Linked DNA regions of Homo sapiens: regions 1 and 3 are each linked to region 2. The links are contacts of gene promoters, found by promoter capture Hi-C in human tissues and cell types (Jung and others, 2019). All regions are on one chromosome and are shown on one strand. The core of a region is centred on a gene start or on the middle of the fragment in contact, and the rest is flanking DNA. Distances in the headings are between cores, read along the strand shown. Region 1 overlaps USP48 (ubiquitin specific peptidase 48). Region 2 holds the start of LDLRAD2 (low density lipoprotein receptor class A domain containing 2). Region 3 overlaps USP48 (ubiquitin specific peptidase 48).

Region 1 (4,482 bases), core at 387-2,886, 120 kb after region 2:
AAACAATAGTGGTTTTGTACTCTGAAGCCTTTTTTTTTTTTTTAAGAATCCATGCATAATTTATTTAAATAGGGTATAAGTCTTAGTATTTTGCATTATACGGACTTTCTCTCTTTTATATTGGCACAGATCATGCATGCATTTTCAGTTGCTCCTTTTGACCAGAATTTGTCAATTGATGGAAAGATTTTAAGTGATGACTGTGCCACCCTAGGCACCCTTGGCGTCATTCCTGAATCTGTCATTTTATTGAAGGTAAGTAAACAGCTCCTTAGCTGAAGAACTCAAGGTTTTACATGTTACATAACTATGTGTAAACTGTGTGAAATGGTGGTTAAAGGATGCCTTGGGTCTTTAGCAGAGGGTAGTGATAAATGACTGCTGTGGGTTTTTGCAGCTCAGCCCAACTCTGGCTGAGCCCCAGGAGACTTAGAGGAGGTCAGGACATCATCTATCTTGTTCTTGTGTGTTATAGTAGGTGATGTTACGCCACAGCATCAGCAACTGCTGGTACCCTGAGAAGGTGAAAGTGAAGGCTTTCCTTGGCCTTTCCTGGATCACCTAGATCAGTTTCTATGCCTTTGTGGGATCAGGGTACATCATTACTTTCCTGTTCCCTGGTAGGGCAGGGCAGTGGTATAAATCCCACTCACCCAACTGCTAAGCTCCACGCCTGATTTTTCCCATTTGATTTTCTGTCACAAGGGCCCCCATTCTTCTCCAGATACAGATCTAGTTTTCATTCCCCTCAGACTGGGAGGAAGGGAGTGATATTGGGTTGTGGCCCTCTGAGCACTGAGGATTGACTGTCATTCCAAAGGGGCAAGCTGAGTGATCTGGTCTCAGGTCACAAAGTTTCTGTGGTGTCCCCTCCCCAATGCCCTCCAACCCCCCGCCCCCCGCTTTTTTTTTTTTCCTTTTTTTGGACTAGATGGATCTGTTCTTAAAACCACACTAATGATACTGATGTCTGCAACTTAATTTGAAATGCTGCCCCCACAAAAAAAAAAAGCAAAAAATGGGTAGAAGATAGACTTGTGACCAATGCAAATAGTAACTTATTTTATACTTTAAAATCTATCTCTGCTGAGATTTTCATAGTTTTTCTTAGTTAAAAGTAGATTCAGCCTCCTCTGTAACTTTTTCCCTAACTTCCGGTTCAGCAGAATTACTTAACCATACGTCATAGTATTAAAGTATCTCCTCTTTTCCTTTTGGTTCAAAAGGACTAGCCAGCCAAGCTAGGAAACAAGGGTAAAACACAAGGTTCTGTCACAACAGTCAAAATACACGACTTAATGGGATTCTGTCCAAGGCATGGAAATTGGTTTTGGATTTAGTAGATGTAGAAAGTAGGGGCTTCTTCTTTTTTTTTTTTTTTTTTTTGAGATGGAGTCTCGCTGTGTTGCCCAGGCTGGAGTGCAGTGGCACAATCTCGGCTCACTGCAACCTCCACCTCCCAGATTCAAGCAGTTCTCCTGCCGCGGCCTCCCGAGTATCTGGGATTACAGGCGTGTGCCACCACACCCGGCCAATTTTTTGTATTTTTAGTAGAGACAGGGTTTCACCGTGTTGGCCAAGCTGGTCTCAAACTCCTGACCTCAGGTGATCTGCCCGCCTCACCTCCCAAAGTGCTGGGATTACAGGTGTGAGCCACTGCGCCAGGCCTCAGTGACTTTTCTTTGACAGTGTCTTAGAAGCCCCTACTTTCACTGGGCGCAGTGGCTCACCCCTGTAATCCTAACACTTTGGGAGGTTGAGGTGGGTGGATCATGAGGTCAGGAGTTCAAGACCAGCGTGGCCAGCATGGTGAAACCCCATCTCTACTAAATATACAAGAAAATTGGCCAAGCGTGGTGGTGGGCACCTGTGATCCCAGCTACTCGGGAGGCTGAGACAGGAGAATGGCGTGAACTCGGGAGGTGGAAGTTGCAGTGAGCCGAGATTGCGCCACTGCACTCCAGCCTGGGCAACAGAGGGAGACTCCGTCTCAAAAAGAAAGAAAGAAAAGTCATTGAACCAGCCTCATTTGCCCAATTCTACCCTCCCTAAGGGCCTAACTTAGTCGCTTCCCATTGCCTCTTTTGTTTCTTCTTGGCCAAAAGAATCCCTACTGTGCCGAATACCACCACATCATGTGGTAGAATCATTGTTCAGGTTTTTTATTTTGAACTGTGAAATGTATGCTTTTCAAACCTTGGAGCCCCCGTTCTGGTGTGATAAAGTTAGGCCCTGGAATGATGAGGCAGACCCATATCTACCCCATCCATGCACACACACCCCTCATCCCACCACCTAACCCCTCCCTCTGTTTAACATTCTGCATTTCCTGGAAGTATAGGTTCTGTGAAATGGTTTTGAAAACACATTGAGTTGCTAGATCCTAATGATCCTGTCTAAAGTCCTAAAACAGCCTGTATTGTTGAACGGTTTGTACTTCACATGGGCAGCTAGAGTCTGTACTGGTCATTGGCTTCATTATCCTTGCAGCTAACCTTATCATAAGCTCAGACATCATAAGCTTCCTCCTAAAAAGGAAATGGGTATCTTGTTCTTGCTGGTGAAGTGGGACAAAAGTATAATTTTAACCTAATTGGTATTCTGAGAGGACCAGTATAACTTTTTATTTGTACCCCTCACTGCCACTACGAGTATCTTAGCTCACATTGGTTTAATCAGTCTTTAGTAACCCCAGGGTGTCTAAACATTTCCATGTCTAAAGGTGTCTTTAAGAATGGGAAAATAGTCCCCCCTGCCTTTCCTCTTCACACACACAGTATACCACTTCTGCAGTGTTGACTCTAGACCCATAGCCAGCAGGGCATCTGCTGTTAAACCTGGACGCTGCTGGCTGTGGCTGAAACTGAGTTATCTACTGGACAGTGTGTTTGTGTCTTATAGCAATATCAGTAGTTGAATCATGGGCCATACTTCAAATTTCAGACTCCCTCTCCCTTGTGGTTTTGAATTGTCTTCATTTGTTTTCTAGGCTGATGAACCAATTGCAGATTATGCTGCAATGGATGATGTCATGCAAGGTAAAGATGAATTTGTTTTAGGAATCTGCTGATTAGGTTTTAGACGGAGGTGGGATTTTAGATATTGAAGCTTTAGTGTACAGTGCTTTTACTTTGAACCTTGAAAAAAGCTTCCACATATTGTTACAGTAGAATACATTATCTTAAAAGATCATAGAAAGGAGGGAAAGATATCTACAAAAACTTGGAAAGCTAACCTGAGGAAACTGAAATAAATGTGAGCTCTGCCTGTGGAGGAGGTCAACAAGAAGCAAAACTAAGTCAGATTGCAGTGCCCCAGACAGGCACACACAAATTAGAGGCCTAGGTACCTCTGAAGGTGGGAATGAATTGTGAGCCTAAAAAGAAGATAACATGATACTTGTTTGGAAAACTGTATAAGAAGCAGTTAGACAACTCTCTACCTTTCACATCCTTGTCACTTCCCCATCTCCACCTGGACCTCAGATGGGCACCCAGAATTATGTGTTTCCACACTTGGAAAAATTAAACTAGAAAGGTGGGAACGAAGCCTATACCAAATAGGAGACCATCTCTTAGCCCTTTGCTCAAATTCGGGCAGCCCATTACTTACCCTCCCCCAGGTGGGAAGGGATTTCTCTCCAGGGAAACTAGTCAAGAAAATAACCAGTGGATGTAAAAAGTCTGGTTCTGTATGATCAAGTGAGATTTCTCCCAGGGATGCAAGGATGTTCAACATATGCAAACCAATACATCACATCAGCAGAATGAAGGACAAAAATCATATGATCATCTTAATAGACAAAGAAAAAGCATTTGATAAAATTCAACATCCCTTCGTGGTAAAAACTCTCAAAAAACCAAGTACAGAAGGAACATACCTCAATATAATAAAGGCCATATGTGAGACCCACAGCTGACATCATACCTAATGGCGAAAAGCTTAAAGCCTTTCCTCTAAGAACTGGAATAGACAAGGACGGCCATTTTCACCACTCTTATTCAACATAGTATTGGAAGTCCTAGCAAGAGCAATTAGGCAAGATAAATAAGTAAAAAGCATGCAAAATTGGAAAAGAGGAAGTCAAATGGTCCCTCTTTGCAGATGACATGCTTTTTTTTTAGAGTCTTTGTTGCCCAGACTGGAGTGCAGTGGCACCATCTCAGCTCACTGCAGCCACCACTCCTGGGTTCAAGCAATTCTTGTGCCTCAGACTCCTGAGTAGCTGGGACTACAGGCATGTGCCATGACACCCAGCTAATTTTTGTATTTTTACTAGAGATGAGGATTTCCCATATTGGCCAGGCTGGTCCCGAACTCCTGGCCCCCTGTGATCTGGCCACCTGGGCCTCCCAAAATGCTAGAATTACAGGCATGAGCCACCATGCCAGGCTGACATGATCTTATATATGTAGAAAAACCTAAAGACGCCACCAAAACACTCTTAAACAACTGATGAACATTCAGTAAAATTGCAGGATA
Region 2 (4,734 bases), core at 547-3,046:
CATCTCTACTAAAATACAAAAAATTAGCCGGGCATGGTGGTGCGCACCTGTAATCCCAACTAATCGAGAGGCTGAGGATGAGAATCGCGTGAACTCTGGAGGCGGAGGTTGCAGTGAGCTGAGATCAAGCCACTGCACTCCAGCCTGGGTAACACAGCGAGACTCCGTCACCAAAAAAAAAAAAGGGGAGGGGGAGAGCTGTGTGATAAGGAGCCCCTTTTCTTCCTGCTTTTGAAAGCTGCTGACTGAGGATGAGGATGGGATGTCCAGAGCTGCAGCAGCCATTTTGCAAAGATGAGGTCAGAGCATTTCAGAGGAACAGTGACATTGTTGAGCCGTTGAGTTAACCATCTCTGGAATCACCTATGACCACTCTTAACTGAAATAGCAAATATCCTACCATTTAAGCCCCATTTAGTTTGTTATCTGTTACTTACAGCCCAAAACATCCTCACTGGTACAGGGTTGTTGTGAGGATTAAATGAGAAGATGTGCAAGTACTCAAAGTAGCCCTGATTTCTGTAAGCACAGAGAGGAAAGAGGAGGTGGGTTTTCTGGTGCAAGATAGGGACCAGTGGGTACTTGAGGACCAGCCAGGATGTGGGTCTTTGAGGAAAAAATCCTTCATCAGAGCTCAGGATGTGGGAGCACTTTCCAATATTTGGTATTTCTCTGCTAAAGCCAGAGCCTACCCTGAAGGTACACAGGGCAGGCATGGAGTTTAGAGAGTAAGGGAATTGGGCACCCTTTTTTTTTTTTATTTCTTTGAGACGGAGTCTCTCTCTGTTGCCAGGCTGGAGTGCAGTGGCGCAATCTCGGCTCACTGCAGCCTCCGACTCCCTGGTTCAAGCGATTCTCCTGCCTCAGCCTCCCAAGTAGCTGGGATTACAGGCACATGCCACCATGCCCAGCTAATTTTTGTATTTTTAGTAGAGATGTGGTTTCACCATGTTGGCCAGGATGGTCTTGATCTCGTGACCTCATGATCCGCCCGCCTCGGCATCACAGAGTGCTGGGATTACAGGCGTGAGCCACTGCGCCCAGCCGGGAATTTGGCACCTTTTATGTGCCAGGTATTATGAAGTGCCTTGCATGACTTATCTCATCTTATATGCCAATAATCATAGTCCCTTAAGGGGCAAGGGCCTATTATTTTCATTTTACTGCCAAAGAAATTCAGAGAGTTGAAACAATGATCTCAAAGGTACAAACATAAGAAGTGGCAGAGTGTGTAAATGCAGCTTCTCTGAATCCGAAGCCTACAGAGTTTTGCAAAGCAGGCCCTGAGGGCTGTCCTGCCCACTCCCAGACTCCTGCTTCTAGGTGACTGGCAGATCCAAGCCTTCCAGAAGGCTTTGGGTTGGATTTGGGGATGCCAAGCAAGACCAGACACAGTTTCCCAGCCTCCCCCAGCTCAAAAGGTCTCAGCCCAGCAGGATGAGTGCTGACTGGGGAAACATAGTCTCTAAGGATGGTGGGGGCCCAAGTCTTCTGGGTGCCCCAACCAAGCCCCCTGATACTTACCTGTCTCCAAAGCAGTTGCAGTCAGGGCGGCTGCCCCCAGCAAGAGCAACCTTTGGGGCAACTGCAGAAGACAACAAGCCTCCATCCAGGCTCTGCTGTGCCCAGCAATGGGGCAGACCCACAGAATCTTCAGCTTGGGGTCTCTGGGGAGACTGGAGTATGGGGCCTGGTCAGGCCAGCAGGGAGGCTGGTGGGACACAAGGAGAAGGGGGAGGCAAGTCTTCACTATGATCTTAGTGCTTTGCCTTCCAGATCCTCTTCATTTGGTTCAGAACTGTGTCCAGGGGTTGCCATGGAGATTTGGAGCAAGGGCTAGAGCCTGGGGAGAGGAGGCAGGGAGGAGATCTGCTCCCCTTCTGCCAGACAGGAACCAGGAAACTCAGATCCGGTTCAGCCATAGGGCTTCTGGGAGGAGGACCCACAGGAAGCCAGATCTGCTACCTTCCTAGATCAGCTGGCCCCTTAGGGACTGAGCTTGAGGGAGGTCCAGGACACCAAAGGAGCCTCTCTGAGGGCCTAGAGAGCAGCAGGCAGAGAAGGAGCACTGGACCAGGAGTCTGCTGTATTACTAACAAGCCATTCCTGCCTCAGGGCCTTTGCACTCATAGATCCCTCTGTCTGGAGTGTTGTCCCCCCATAGCAGTGCACGGCTGACTTCTTCAGGTCATCAGGTTGTGGCTCACATGTTACCTCCACAGACCACACTCTCCTGACCACCTCTCCAACTAAATTAACACTCTCTCTCTTTGTCACTCAATCACATCTCAAATGTATCATCCCAGCACTGTCTGGAATTATTTTGCCTATTCATTTCTTCTTGTATATATTGTCCACTGGCCTCCACTAAAATTATATTCCATGAGTATCTTGTTTACCTCTGAACCCTTATGTCATAGCACAGTCACTGGCACAAGGCAGGCGCCCAGGAAATAATGAAAGAATAAGTGTGTGGCATTGAACAAATGACCCCTTTTTCTGGATTTTACTTTCCCATGTGTAAAATAAATACCCTGGACTAATTCAGACTTTTTCAAAACGTGTTATTAGTAGAACAATTTTTTTTCAAAAGGTATGTTACAAGGAACCTTTATCTATAAAACTGAAGCTTTTCAAGCCCTGGCATCCTTCTCTGGAAAATGGGATAATGATTAATTCCAACCACATAGTTGCATTGTAAGAATTAAGTAACTTGGCCTGGCTTGGTGGCTCATGCCTGTAATCCCAGCACTTTGGGAGGCAGAGGTGGGTGGATCACAAGGTCAGGAGTTCAAGGCCAGCCTGGCCAACATAGTGAAACCCCATCTCTACTAAAAATACAAAAAAAATTAGCCGGGCATGGTGGTGCATTCCTGTAGTCCCAGCTACTCAGGAGGCTGAGGCAGGAGAATCGCTTGAATCCGGGAGGTGGAGGTTGCAGTGAGCTGAGATTGTGCCACTGCACTCCAGCTTGAGCAACAGAGTGAGACTTCATCTCAAAAAAAAAAAAAAAAAAAGAATTAAGTAACTTAATACAAGTGGGGTACTTGGAATAGTGTCTATCATGTAGTAAAGTAACCAATGTATTTCAGCTTGAATGATGATCATTAATGTCATCGTTATTATTTAAGCAGATGTTTCAAGTGTGGGGGAGGGGAGGAGCTAAGCAGCCCAAATTGGCAGTGCCTGAGACACCACCTCAAAATCCCAGGAATCCATGAGAAGGTTAAGACCTCTGGACCTGGCCGGGCACAGTGGCTCACACCTGTAATCCCATCACGTTGGGAGGCCAAGGCAGGCGATCACCTGAGGTTGGGAATTCGAGAGCAGCCTGGCCAGCATGGTGAAACCCCATCTCTACTATAAATACAAATATTAGCCGGGCGTTGTGGCACAGAGGCTGAGGCACAATAATCGCTTGAACCCGGGAGGCGGAGATTGCAGTGAGCCGAGATTGCACCACTGCACTCCAACCTGGGCGATAAAATAAAAAAAAAAAAAAACCCAAAACAAACACCTCTGGACCTATTATTCCCTAACAGCTCTCCCTCCTGGAGCGGTCATTTGATGCAACCTTGATTTCCTACAGTGTATGATGTCCAAATCTGTACCTTGGGGAACTCCAAAAAGACTCAAATCTTCCCTCAGCAAGAATGAATTTATCATGAAGCCCACTGAAGCTTAAACTTCAGAACTCATCACCTGCATGGGATTATATGGTTTTTGTTTTGTTTTGTTTTTGTTTTTGTTTTTGTTTTGAGACTGAGTCTTGCTCTGTCGCCCAGGCTGCAGTGCAGTGGCGCAATCTTGGTTTGTTGCAAGCTCCGCCTCCCGGGTTCACGCCATTCTCCTGCCTCAGCCTCCCAAGTAGCTGGGATTACAGGCACCCGCCATCACGCCCGGCTAATTTTTTGTATTTTTAGTACAGATGGGGTTTCACCGTGTTAGCCAGACTGGTCTTGATCTCCTGACCTTGTGATCCACCCACCTCAGCCTCCCAAAGTGCTAGGATTACAGGCGTGAGCCACCGCGCCCGACCTTTTGTTTGTTTTTTTTTTTTTTTGAGATGGAGTCTCACTCTGTTGCCCAGGCTGGAGTGCAGTGGCATGATCTCAGCTAACTGCAACCTCCCAGGCTGGAGTGCAGTGGCATGATATCAGCTCACTGCAACCTCTGCTTCCCGGGTTCAAGAGATTCTCCTGCCTCAGCTTCCCGAGTAGCTGGAACTACAGGTGTGTGCCACCACACCCAGCTAATTTTTTATTTTTAGTAGAGATGGGGGTTTCACCATGTTGGTCAGGCTGGTCTCGAACTCCTGACCTCAGGTGATCCGCCCACCTCGGCGTCCCAGAGTGCTGGGATTACCGGAGTGAGCCACCGCGCCCGGCCGGGATTATATGTCTTCATAAAATTTGCAAAAGTAAGAATGGTTATAAACTTTCAGTTTTGCAAGATGAAAATGTTTTAGAGATCTGTTGCACAGTACTGTGAAAATACTTAACACTACTGAACTGTACACTTAGAATGGCTAAGACTGGCCAGGTGCAAGGCTCACACCTTTAATCTCAACACTTTGGGAGCCTGAGGTGAGAGGATCGCTTGAAACCAGGAGTTCAAGACCAACCTGGGCCTGTAATCCCAGCACTTTGCCTGAGGTCAGGAGTTCGACAGCAGCCTGGCCAACATGGTGAAGCCCAATCTCTACAAAAAAATACAAAAAATTAGCCAGGCGTG
Region 3 (4,589 bases), core at 729-3,228, 85 kb after region 2:
GATATGATTTAGAGATTAGCATGGTTCACTATATGTGAAAACAAGAATAAAGTTGTTTTTTGTCTTTCTGTTTTGAATAGCCTTTCTTCAAGAGCTGGTAGATCGGGATAATTCCAAATTTGAGGAGTGGTGTATTGAAATGGCTGAGATGCGTAAGCAAAGTGTGGATAAAGGAAAAGCAAAACACGAAGAGGTTAAGGAGCTGTACCAAAGGTTACCTGCTGGAGCTGGTCTGTAAGATATTCTGGGACAGCACTGTTGCCATTAAGTGCCTTGTTTTTTTATGTTCACAAATGTATATGAAGAAACTTTCTCAAACTTACTCTTTCTAATAACCCACTAAAGCCAGCTTAAACACTCTAAAAGTACTTTGTAAACCAACAATAACTTGATGTGTAGCATTCCATATTATTTCATTACGTTGTACTCCTAAAAATGGGAAGCTGTTAATAAATTATAACATTTAGGTCAGCACTCTGCATCCATGAGTATTGTAGATATTTATATTTTGTGAGATATTAACTTGTTTAAGAAAAATCCGATTGGATTACTATGGAAAAAGCAACTTGCCTGTTCTGTTTCTTTGCATACTTTGTGACCTAACAGTTTTAACAGACATTCTATTATATGAATACAGTTTTTTTGATACTATTAGATTAACTTGAAGTTTAATACCAAATATTATGCTAAGAGTAGAAAAGCTTTCTGCTGACCCCTGATTTCTTAGAAATATCCCACATAATCCAGCTTATCCCTTTTCTGTATATGTTTATTCAGGTTTACCTGATGTCTCAAAATGAAACCAAATTAAGCCTTTTTAAAGGCTGATGTGCCATTTGTATTAAGTTATCTTTGTCATTTTAAAGACATGAATTCCCCAAGCCTAATTCCTACTTAAGGAAGAGAGACAATTTAGTCCTTACTTTAGAAAATAAATACTTAAGCATAATTGTACTTGTGGTTTGTCTTTTTAATATCTTAATTTTCCATTACTAGTATAACTTTAAGCAAAATGTAAACAAAAATTGCCAAGTCTATAAGAATATATTTTAACTAAATTTTAATTCAATTCTGACCCTTCTTTGTAATCTGTTACTTTAACTCTGTCCAAGGGTTGGGATTACCCTAAATAATTAAACTGACCTTAATGTAACTGGAAATGATTTGGAAATGAACCCATGATTCAGATCTCTAAATTTATAGGTCTTTGTTCAAAGGTGTTGGGACCTAGAAATCTATTTTCCAAACTTTATTCACGGTTTCCTGTGTCCACTGGGCAAGAGAAAGGGACTTAACTGGGTCTAAAGTGAAATACTCATTTGAACCACTCTTTAGAACTATAGAGTTCAAAGATGTTATGTGTCAAGTTAGCACTGTGCTTCCTTTGGCTGTTTTCATTCAGCATATAGGAACCTTATGTTCTTAGAATATGCTTATGTTCTTAGAGTATTTCTCTGTGTTATTTATACTTTTACCAATTATGAGCTATATAATTCTTTTCCATTTGCAGTAAACTTATATTGTAGACAGTCCACGCTGTAAAATTATGTAGAATCTCAAAGTTAATGAGCATGGTTTTGTGCTGGCAAGAGAAGTCTTTTGTTATGCATTTTCTAAATCTTATTTTTGTGTGTGAACATATTTAAAAAAACAAAGATCACTTACCCTAAAATCTAAGCCTCAGTAGGAACGTGCTTTTGGCCCTTTTTATTTCCATTGAAATATACTTAAATTATCTCTAGGTAAAGTGTTTCAGATGTTTTTGATGCTGTGATTGTTCTAGACTTTATAACTTTCCAAAGAAAATGTGTCATGTTCAAAATCCAGGTTTTTTTTTTTCTTTTTAAAGAACTTTGAACCAAAATGTATATTTCCCTGTGGTAAATATTTTAATATTTTGCTTTCCTCATCAAATGCTGAGGTTTCATATAGTCCGGTATCTCCAGCTTGATAATAGGAGAGTTCTCCCTCATTTGGAGTTGATTATGTCCATGGCCTTTGGAAAGCAATGCTTGTAGTTTACTGAATCACAAATACTAGGGAATATATTTGAGGGGCCTACTTAGAGTCTTTTTCTAGTGCAGAAACATCTGTAGTGTAAAAACTTTGCCACAAACAGAATCTGCCTTAACTATGAGACTTGTGCTCCACTTGTATTCTCAGGCAAGCTCTTGGCAGAGTCAGTGCAACTCTTTATGATGATAGAGACTGAAAATGGAAAGAAAGACAGACTTCTGTGACCATAGTCACTCTTCCTTCATGGAGCCCACAGCGCACTAAAGTGAAATCTGGAGAACTTGCTGTTAGTAGTAAGCATGGTATTAGATTAGAATTATAGGCCTGTTCTCTGCTTTCTGTCTTCCTCCTCTTACTATAAAACCGTACATAGTTTTTCTAATCATTGTATCTTACATTAAATTTATATTGAACAATTCAAAAACCAAAACAACAAGCTTTCCTTGGAAGTTTTCTGTGAGATTGGAAAATGTTGTCTTGCCTTTGAGCCACATTGTTGCTGGACAGTCAGGGCCACAGTCACCCTAGGCTTTGAATTCCTGCAGACATCCCCTGGCAAGGAGGGCTTTGTGCATTTTGAGCTTTCCTAGATTCCTTTCATTGTGAGGGCCAGGATTCTTAGGGTGTTTTCTTTCAGTTAGCAATAACAGATACTGCTGTCTGTCCACTCCTCCCCAGCTGCTGGGGAAACTAGGATGCCTAGTGACTTATTCTTGAATGTTGCTCTTTATCACAATCCTGTTTTTTCTCCTTTGATAGCCTTCATATTGCTTACCATTTTAATCTAATTGACTGTCCTTGGGAAAAGATGAGAGTATGCTAAGACTTTGATCTTGCTTTCAGAAAGGGATCATTTATCTTTGCATTCCCCAGATACCCAGTGTACTCTATCCCTGGCAGATTAAGCTTGATAAATGGCAAATAAAGTCGGGAGGCATTTTGAATGTAATTAGCCATACCATGATATACTGTAAAGTGCTGCAGCTGTGTTACATATACTGCATCTTAAAGTCTCCTCTTTTTTTTTTTTGAGATGGAATTTCACTCTTGTTGCCCAGGCTAGAGCGCACTGGTGCAATGTCAGCTCACCACAACCTCCGCGTCCCGGGTTCAAGTGATTCTCCTGCCTCAGCCTCCCGAATAGCTGGTATTACAGTCGTGTGCCGCCATGCCCAGCTAATTTTTTGTATTTTTAGTACAGACGGGGTTTCTCCCTGTTGGTCAGGCTGGTCTCAAACTCTGGACCTCAGGTGATCTGCCCGCCTCGGCCTCCCAAAGTGCTAGGATTACAGGCGTGAGCCACCATGCCCAGCCAAGGTCTCCTCTTTTATATATTAAGTTTACGTAAATGTATAATTAACTTTTCCATATCTCTTTTCTTCCAAAAAGCTCAAAATGCTTCACATAGCTTATCTTTTATACTCAACAACATTCCCATGAGGTAGGTAGAAGGCAGGTATTATTACCTTCATTTTACAAATAAAAGACTGGAAACATAGAAAGTTTAAGTGACTTGTTCAGGTTCATTTTCTTGGTAGCAGAACTTGGATTAGACCGTGACCTCGACTCACAGTCCTGTGCTCTTCCTCTGGAGCCACATTCGACTTGACCAGTTAGAAGGCTCTTAGTTGATGATGTACAGTGCCAAATTTTGTTTTCATAAAAATTGAGATGGTTTACTGTAAAATTAAAATGGGAGTTAGTTTTCTAGACATGTAACTCTCTGGGGAGTATAAAACTGGTCACAATGGGCTTTGCGTTGAAGTATCTGTCCCTCAGATCTCATCAGAAGGAGTATATAATACAAAAATATAAATTCAACCTCTGTATGTTTTCTTCTATGTTTTATGCTGGGACTCACTGGAGATCTTTGTAAGTAATCAAAGCTGGCCCTTTATCTTTGATTTTGGCTTTTAGGGAATTCTAGGGACTTCCTTTCCCCAAATTAAAACTCATTTTGAGGTGTTTGGTTTTGTCTTTTAATTTTTGCAACTTCAAAATTGATGACTCAGTTCTAGTGTACTTTATCCTCGAACTTGTTTAAAATAGGTTACTTTCTTGAAATAAATAATAATATAATGAAGAGATCATGACTTGGATTTGGGTGGGGGAATTAAATACCTTTTCAAAATTGCCATCAGTATCATCTTGGATGAAGAAAGTTCAGTGGTTAAAAGCGTCTTCTGAAGTGTGGTCATAGTCGGTGAGGTTTATTTCAGTTTGGCTTCTCATTTTAATTTTCAGATGTATATCACATATATGTGAAAAGTACTGACAAAAATAATTTATGAAATAAACACAGTAGGGCATGAGGTTGTGTTATTTGTGAGGCAGCAATGGAGCATGACTTGTAGTCAACAAACATGGGTGTCCTGATCAAAGCTCTGCTGTGCTATTCGGCAAGACTCTATGTGGATGCCTCTTGTAGAATGTGGTTAATAATACCAGCCGATCTCATAGGGCACTGTGCAGACTCAGCATTATGGTGCACAGCTCCTTGAACTCATAGGAGTGGCACTTAACTGGAGCTTTGTGTCGTACTCATCAAACATCTTCCCCCAGACAATGATTCT

What was found. The method cuts DNA at HindIII sites, captures the fragments that hold promoters and counts their contacts. A contact is called where the count stands out against the background at its distance.
Region 1: a fragment that was not itself captured here is called in contact with the fragment with the promoter of LDLRAD2 in region 2 in 2 of the 25 tissues and cell types used here (bladder and pancreas).
Region 3: a fragment that was not itself captured here is called in contact with the fragment with the promoter of LDLRAD2 in region 2 in 2 of the 25 tissues and cell types used here (H1 embryonic stem cells and aorta).

Annotation. Positions count from the first base shown.
Region 1 is chr1:21,685,747-21,690,228 of GRCh38, reverse strand. It overlaps USP48 (ubiquitin specific peptidase 48), which reads left to right. Exons shown (of 27, transcript NM_032236.8): 24 at 130-255; 25 at 2,990-3,038. Among named protein-coding and RNA genes, the nearest start is that of RAP1GAP, 19 kb to the right of the region's middle. The HindIII fragment of the contact is 3,818 bases long and covers 1-3,545 here.
Region 2 is chr1:21,809,327-21,814,060 of GRCh38, reverse strand. LDLRAD2 (low density lipoprotein receptor class A domain containing 2) reads right to left here and starts at 1,796. Exons shown (of 5, transcript NM_001013693.3): 1 at 1,525-1,796. The coding sequence starts at 1,609. RefSeq lists an enhancer at 1,711-2,005 and a silencer at 3,160-3,310. The HindIII fragment of the contact is 35,123 bases long and covers 1-3,155 here.
Region 3 is chr1:21,724,211-21,728,799 of GRCh38, reverse strand. USP48 (ubiquitin specific peptidase 48) reads left to right here. Exons shown (of 27, transcript NM_032236.8): 11 at 81-230. Among named protein-coding and RNA genes, the nearest start is that of USP48, 57 kb to the left of the region's middle. The HindIII fragment of the contact is 3,775 bases long and covers 91-3,865 here.